Linked DNA regions of Homo sapiens: region 1 is linked to region 2. The links are contacts of gene promoters, found by promoter capture Hi-C in blood cells and fetal thymus (Javierre and others, 2016). All regions are on one chromosome and are shown on one strand. The core of a region is centred on a gene start or on the middle of the fragment in contact, and the rest is flanking DNA. Distances in the headings are between cores, read along the strand shown. Region 1 holds the start of PRR22 (proline rich 22). Region 2 holds the start of RANBP3 (RAN binding protein 3).

The links. Contacts are between HindIII fragments. The CHiCAGO score rates a contact against its expected background, and 5 or more counts as called.
Region 1: a contact is called between the fragment with the promoter of PRR22 here and the fragment with the promoter of RANBP3 in region 2, in 1 of 17 cell types (naive CD4 T cells). The highest score is 5.3, in naive CD4 T cells.

The regions. Positions count from the first base shown.
Region 1 is chr19:5,783,338-5,786,406 of GRCh38, forward strand. PRR22 (proline rich 22) reads right to left here and starts at 1,409. Exons shown (of 3, transcript NM_001134316.2): 1 at 1,194-1,409; 2 at 1,040-1,102; 3 at 1-716. The coding sequence starts at 1,323. It overlaps DUS3L (dihydrouridine synthase 3 like), which reads right to left. Exons shown (of 13, transcript NM_020175.3): 11 at 2,266-2,454; 12 at 2,046-2,174; 13 at 1,803-1,938. The coding sequence ends at 1,866. The HindIII fragment of the contact is 18,380 bases long and covers 1-3,069 here.
Region 2 is chr19:5,976,593-5,979,751 of GRCh38, forward strand. RANBP3 (RAN binding protein 3) reads right to left here and starts at 1,548. Exons shown (of 17, transcript NM_007322.3): 1 at 1,469-1,548. The coding sequence starts at 1,490. It overlaps RANBP3-DT (RANBP3 divergent transcript), which reads left to right and starts at 1,811. Exons shown (of 4, transcript NR_046376.1): 1 at 1,811-1,922. RefSeq lists silencers at 1,332-1,441, 1,672-1,841, 1,892-1,941. The HindIII fragment of the contact is 6,470 bases long and covers 1-3,159 here.

The sequences.
Region 1 (3,069 bases), core at 159-2,658, 190 kb before region 2:
CTCAGGCTCAGAGGCGCCTGGCAGGCAGTCGAAGAGCTTCATGGCGTCCTCCAGCAGAACCTTGTCAGGCAGTGCCAAAGCTCTGGCCGTCTTGGGGGCCTTGGCCTTGCCTGCTCCCAGCAGGGCCCCCTCCTTGACCTCGGCCACCTTGAGCTCGCTGAGGCCCGGTGGGTACAGGGGCACCCCAGGTCGGGCCCCACTGCCCTGCAGCTCCTTGACGGGGAAGGCCAGGGGTTCGGGCCCAGGGAAGTGGCCGAGGTGACCCTGGAGGTGGCTGTAGGCGTCTGGGGGCAGTGTGGGCTCTGCAGGCAGCGTGATGAGTACAGGGGGCGGCTTGTTCTCCTTGGGGGGTGGGGGTGGCAGCGGGGCCGGGCCTTCCTCTAGGGGCGGTAGGGGCAGCTCCACGAAGGCGGCGGGCCCTGCGTCCCCCACAAAACCCAGAGCCTCTGGCCCGGGGCCCTCAGGCGGGAAGTAGGGCAAGAGAAACTGGGGCCCCCCGGGTGCCTGCTGGTAGTGGGGGTATGGAGGCAGCCCCGGGGCCTTGAGGTAGGGCTGAGGCTCCAGGAGGTAGCTGCCTGGGGCGGAGGGGACCCCCGCTGGCCCCCCGCTGCTTGCTGCCAGCTTATACAGGGCTGACTGGCCCAGGTCGGGGGTGGTCCACTCGATCCGATAGATGCGGGGGTCGAAGAAGCACCCGCATGGGGCCATCTGGAAACCTGTGGGCGGCAGGCGGGTGCCCTGAGAGCAGCTGCTGCCTGAGGGGCCCAGCCCAAGCCTGGGGGCCTGTTTGGGAGATGCCACAAGAACCTTGCCATTGGGGGGCCCCTTTGGGGGACGACATAGATATTGCTTTGGGGCCCTGGCTGGGTGATGGATGACACAGAGCTTGTCTTTGGGGCTCATCTGGGGGACCTGTGTGAAGCATGGGGAGCAGAGGCCATGCCTTCAGGCTCCCACTTAGGGACGGGGCAGGGGCAAGATGGGCCTGCACACTCAAACCCACTCCCAGCCTCGTCAAGGGCTCAGGGGAGGCCGGTACCTGCTGGTGGGGCTGGAAACACCTCTTTCTCTGGGTCTGGGGGATGATACAGGTTCAAGGAGCCTGTGGACAAAGGTGCCCAGGTGGGTAGGGCCCTTAGGCGGGTGGGCCCCTGAACCCTCTCCAGCAGGTGCTCCCACCCACCCGATCGTACCCATAGCGGGAGGAGGCTCGGCACAGGTGGGAGCAGGCTGGTTGCCCAGCACCTCAGCCCCCTCCAGACTCTGCGGGCTGAAACCTTCCTGGGGAGCTGCAGGGGCACAGAACGGTTTGGGGTGCTGCATGGGGCAGCGGGGGGCCCGGTCCAGACAGGCCAGGAGGGCGGCAGTGGGAGTGCAAGTGGCCCAACCGGAGAACAGGCTGAGAACCTGGTGGGGTTCTGTTTGCCTGGTTACTCGGGGCAGCGGGTTCCAGCCTGCAGCGCGCCCACTGGTTGGGGTTCTGGGTGTTGGGGGCAAGCAGGGGCAGACGTTGGCAGACATGGTCATCACCATGGGAGGGAGGATTCTGGGCCAGGCCTTTGCCTCTTCCAGCAACACCCCCCTAACAGCTTTGAGGCCGCCTCCTCCAGGCAGGCTGCCCTGATCCACACCCACACAGGCTGAGGCCCCCCGGGTCCTCAACCCGCTACCTTCTTGGGGGTCAAGGCCTCTCTGGGCACCAGCAGCACCCAGCTTGGGGCAGGGCCCATGGAGGCAGCTAAGAGGTTTGGGGAAGGTGGGGGCCGAGGAGGGGCTGCTTCAGGGTCACAGAAAGGCCTGGATTTTAAAAGAATAAAATTTATTGTACTCTCCTCGCCCCAGGGTGCCCCTGGGAAAGCCTGAGGCTACTTGTACGCGTTGGCCTTGTGCTTCGGCAAGAAGGCGAAGCTGGGGGGCACTGGCCCAAGGAGCATCTCGCTGTGGGAGAGCAGGTGGAAAGCGAGGTCAGGCCCAGGACCTGCAAAGTACCCTCCGTGACCCCGGGCCCCCGACTGCAGCTCCCCAACTCCAGCCCACCCAGGCACCTGATGCGGATCCAGTCGGCTGCCTTCTGGCTGGCCATCAGCGTCTCCAGGTAGTCGCGGCCCAGGTAGTAGGGCGGCCGCTCGTTGATCCTCTGTGGGAGCCGCTCCAGCAGCCCCACGGGCACGTACCTGCGGCGGGTGGGCGGGCAGGACAGGCTTGAGTCAGCTCTAACCAGCCGCGGCCCACGCGCCGCCCACCCCAGCCAGCCCCGGTGCCCACCGGCACAGGAAGGACAGCCACTCGAGCAGAAAGCGCCGGGTCTTCTCCACGCCCTGCGTGTCCGAGCCCCAGTGCTCCAGGCCGTAGTTGGTGAAGTCCCGCAGGATGTCCAGGCGCTCGGACGACGAGATGTCCCAGTGCCGCTGCTCCTTGATCTCCGTGAAGAGCCACGGCTTGAGCAGGGCGCCACTGTGGGACGGGTGACGATCAGTGGGCCCAGCCACCAGCCTGCCTGGGATCGTGTGGCCTCTGCTTCCATGGCCTGGCCTGAGCCGGAGCCCAGACCACAAAACCTACAAGCCTAGTAAGCCTCCCAGCTGCATGCACACAACCTTCAAAGCACAGGACTTTCTTTTGTTTTTTCTGAGACGGAGTCTGGCTCTGTCGCCCAGGCTGGGGTGCAGTGGTAAGATCTCGGCTCACTGTTCAACCTCCGTCTCCCAGGTTCAGGCAATTGTCCTGCCTCAGCCTCCCTAGTAGTTGGGATTACAGGCGTGTACCACTACACCTGGCTAATTTTTGTATTTTTAATAGAGATGTTTCACCATGTTGGTCAGGCTAGTCTTGAACCTCCGACCTCAAATGATCGGCGTGCCTTGGCCTCCCAAAGTGCTGGGATTACAGGCGTGAGCCACACACCTGGCCAAAGCCCAGGACTTTCAACCCACAATCATCAGATCCCACAGCAGCAGCAATTTCCAGTCCCCTCTGCCGCAACGCAGCTGCAACTCCTGACATCGCTCTCTGCTCCTCCCATCTTGGGACCAACAGCCCACCACAGAACAGGGGTGGGTGACGGCGTGT
Region 2 (3,159 bases), core at 298-2,797:
AATTAGCTGGGTGTGGTGGTGCGCGCCTGTAATCCCAGCTACTCGGGAGGCTGAGGCAGGAGAATCACCTGAACCCGGGAGGCGGAGATTGCAGTGAGCCGAGATGGCGCCACTGCACTCCAGCCTGGCTACAGAGCTAGACTCCGTCCCAAAAAATAAAATAGAATAAAATGGCCAAGAATCAGGGAGAGAACCTGTGCTGCTGCCTGTACAGATGCCCAGCGCCCGCCCAACACCACACAGAATCAGAATCTGCAGGGACTGAGCACCCGTGGTCTGGCATCTGAAGCCAGGCCATCTTGGTTCACATCCCTGCTCCTTCCCAGCTGTGTGACACGCCTTGGATAAGCGACTTAACCACGTTGACTCAGTCTCCTCATCAAGTGAATGGGGCTAACAGTATCTATACCTCCTACCAGGGAAAACAGTATGTCAAGACTTTGCACCACACCTGGTAACTACCCTAAATGCTCCACAAGACCAAGCACTTCCTATCATCATTCATTCATTACTGCAATTCGGTAGGGAAAACCCTCCAGTCACAGGGAGCACCGAATGGGGGAATCAGAGCCAGACAGGTAGAGAGCTTGCCTGCATTTGTGCAACTAGAAAAGGGGGGGAGCTAAAAATAGGCCTCAGAAGTCTTGAAGCTACAGCGATGGCAACACGACTATGGATGGAAGCAGACATCAGCCTTATGGTGCCTTCTCGGGGGATCTGGAAGTGTAACCTTGTCAAAAACACTCAGGTGGGCTGTCAGCGCTCCACAGAGGAGGGACTCGCACGGTCTCTTGTCTGGAAGTGCAGCAAAAAGGGCCAAAGAGCAGCCAGGGTTTTCGGCGGCCCAGATCCTGCGGCGGGGCCTAAATGAGGGGGAGACGAAGCGCCCCGAAGGATCCGGGGGGAACTGGCGGGAAGTGGGGGCCGAAGTTCGGGGCGGGGACGGGGTGAAAACGGCCTGGGCTTCCTCCGTCCGCGGTGTGCGGCTGGCCCGCGGAGGACGAGGGCCTCACGGGCTTAGGAGATAGGCAGCCAGGCCGGGGAAGGGGAGATGCCGGGTGGCGGAGGACGAGGGGGCGGGGAGGGAGCGTGGCGCGCTCCGGGCCACAACCAGGCCCTAAGGTCTATTTACATCCGTGGCCGAAGCACTGGGGCCGCGCCTCCCGCCCCCTTCAGCCCCGAGCTTGGCTGCGACGCAGAGGGGCCTTAGGGCTGCGATCCCGATGGCCACCCGGCTCCTCTAGCCAGACGGCTGCAGTGGCTGGGGTTGCCGGGAGTGATGGGCCGGGCCGGTGAGCCCGGCCTGAGGGGACGCAATAGGGGGCGGCTGCAAGGCCCGCCACGGCGCTAGCCTGGAGCGGACGAAACCCTTGCACTCTGCGGTGCTCCCCCCAAGGGCTTGTGGCCCCTAGTCCTCCCGCCGCCCGTTCCCCGGCCGCCAGCCGGTCCCCAACGGCGCCTCCCCTACCTTCGTTCGCCAGGTCCGCCATTTTACTTCCTTAAGCCCTCCCACAAGGCCCCGCGCCGGCCCAGGCTCGCCTGCTTTCTGCCAGAAACTCCCGCGCGTGCGCACTTAACAAGCCGACTCCGTGTGAGGCGGCCAGCTCGCGCCTGCGCGCTGAATGCCGCGCGGAGGCGAGCCCCGGATCGCCTGCCCTGCAGAGCAGCCTGCCCTGACGAGCCGCGCTCCTAGCACGCACCTGCGCACGAGCCATCTCCCGCCTCCTTTTCCCGCCGACTGAGAGGGCGGGGAAAGGGCCGGGAAGGGCGCATGCGCAGTGGCAGCGACTAAGGTTTAGTGAGGCGGCACCGCGCGGCCCGAGGCGGGTCTTGAAGCACTCGTTTTCCCACTCGTTTTCCGGGGTTCCCCCGCGGTGGGACAGTGAGCAGTTCAGGGCGCCGCAGCCGAGGCCTTCCTCCAGGTAAATCGCCGGGCCTGCGGGGGCTTCCCACACGCGCGGGCGGGAGACGCGTTGCCTCCTACCTCAGTTTACCCGCCTTAGGAGCCGGTACCTTCGGCAAACGCTTTCCTGAAACCACGGGGGAAGTGGCGAGAGGGCGCGGGGTGCTTGGGATTGGGGGGTAAATCAGAGCTCATCGGCGGGGGCGGGGGTCGTGGTCAGGCTCTAGGAGGGGGCGCAGCCCTGGGACCCAGGTGCTGGCGTTGGGGGCGGGGGGAGCCGGCGCGAGGGACTCGACCCCTCGGAGCTACGAGAATCAACTTCACAAGCTCATGGGAGGGGAACCGCGCGCCTCCAGGTTACCCATCTGTAAAATGGGACCATCAGCCTCACTCACAAGGCTCATGGGAGGGTCCTGGACACCCTGGAGTTGTTCTCTACTCACCTGCTATGAATCTCTCAGCAAATCCTTCGGACTTGGCCTTGCCTCCAAAATACAGCCCAGAGCCACCCATTGTCACCCCCAGGCTGTCACCACCCTAGGCCACATCGTCCGTATCTATCTCATGGAAGACTTGGACAGCGGCCTCTCTGCTATCCTTTGCTGCATTCTTTTGAAGCCCCAGGCTTGGTTCTGCACATGGCCGCAGGCTGAGGAGTCTTTGAAAAATATAATCAGCCAGACGCGGTAGCTCACCCCTGGAATCCCAGCACTGCGGGAGGCCAAGGTGGGAGGATCGCTTGAGCTCAGTTCAAAACCAGCCTAGGCAACAGAGCAAGACCCCATCTCTACAAAAACACAAAAATTACCCGGATGTGGTGGTGCAAGCCTGTGGTCCCAGCTACTTGGGAGGCTGAGGCAGGAGGATCACTTGAGCCCAGGAGGTTGAGGCTGCAGTGAGCTGTGACAGTGCCACTGCCACCATCCTAGGGACACAGCAAGAACCTCCCCCATATATATACACATATATACTTTGTTTTTATCTATATATATACACACAGATATATACATACACGTGTGCATATATATGTGTGTGTGTGTATATATATATATATACACATAGACTGAAAATGGAAATATCAAGGCCACTCAGTGCTTCCAGAGGGCTCTCAGCTGAACTTGGAATATCCTAAACCTTGTATTCAGGTTTATGAAGTCCCCTGAACTTGGCTCCCATGCCCTGCTTTGTTCCCCCTTGCTCATTGCTGTTCAGCCGCGTGGGTCTTTCCATCCTTGGAGCACAAGCTCATTCCAACC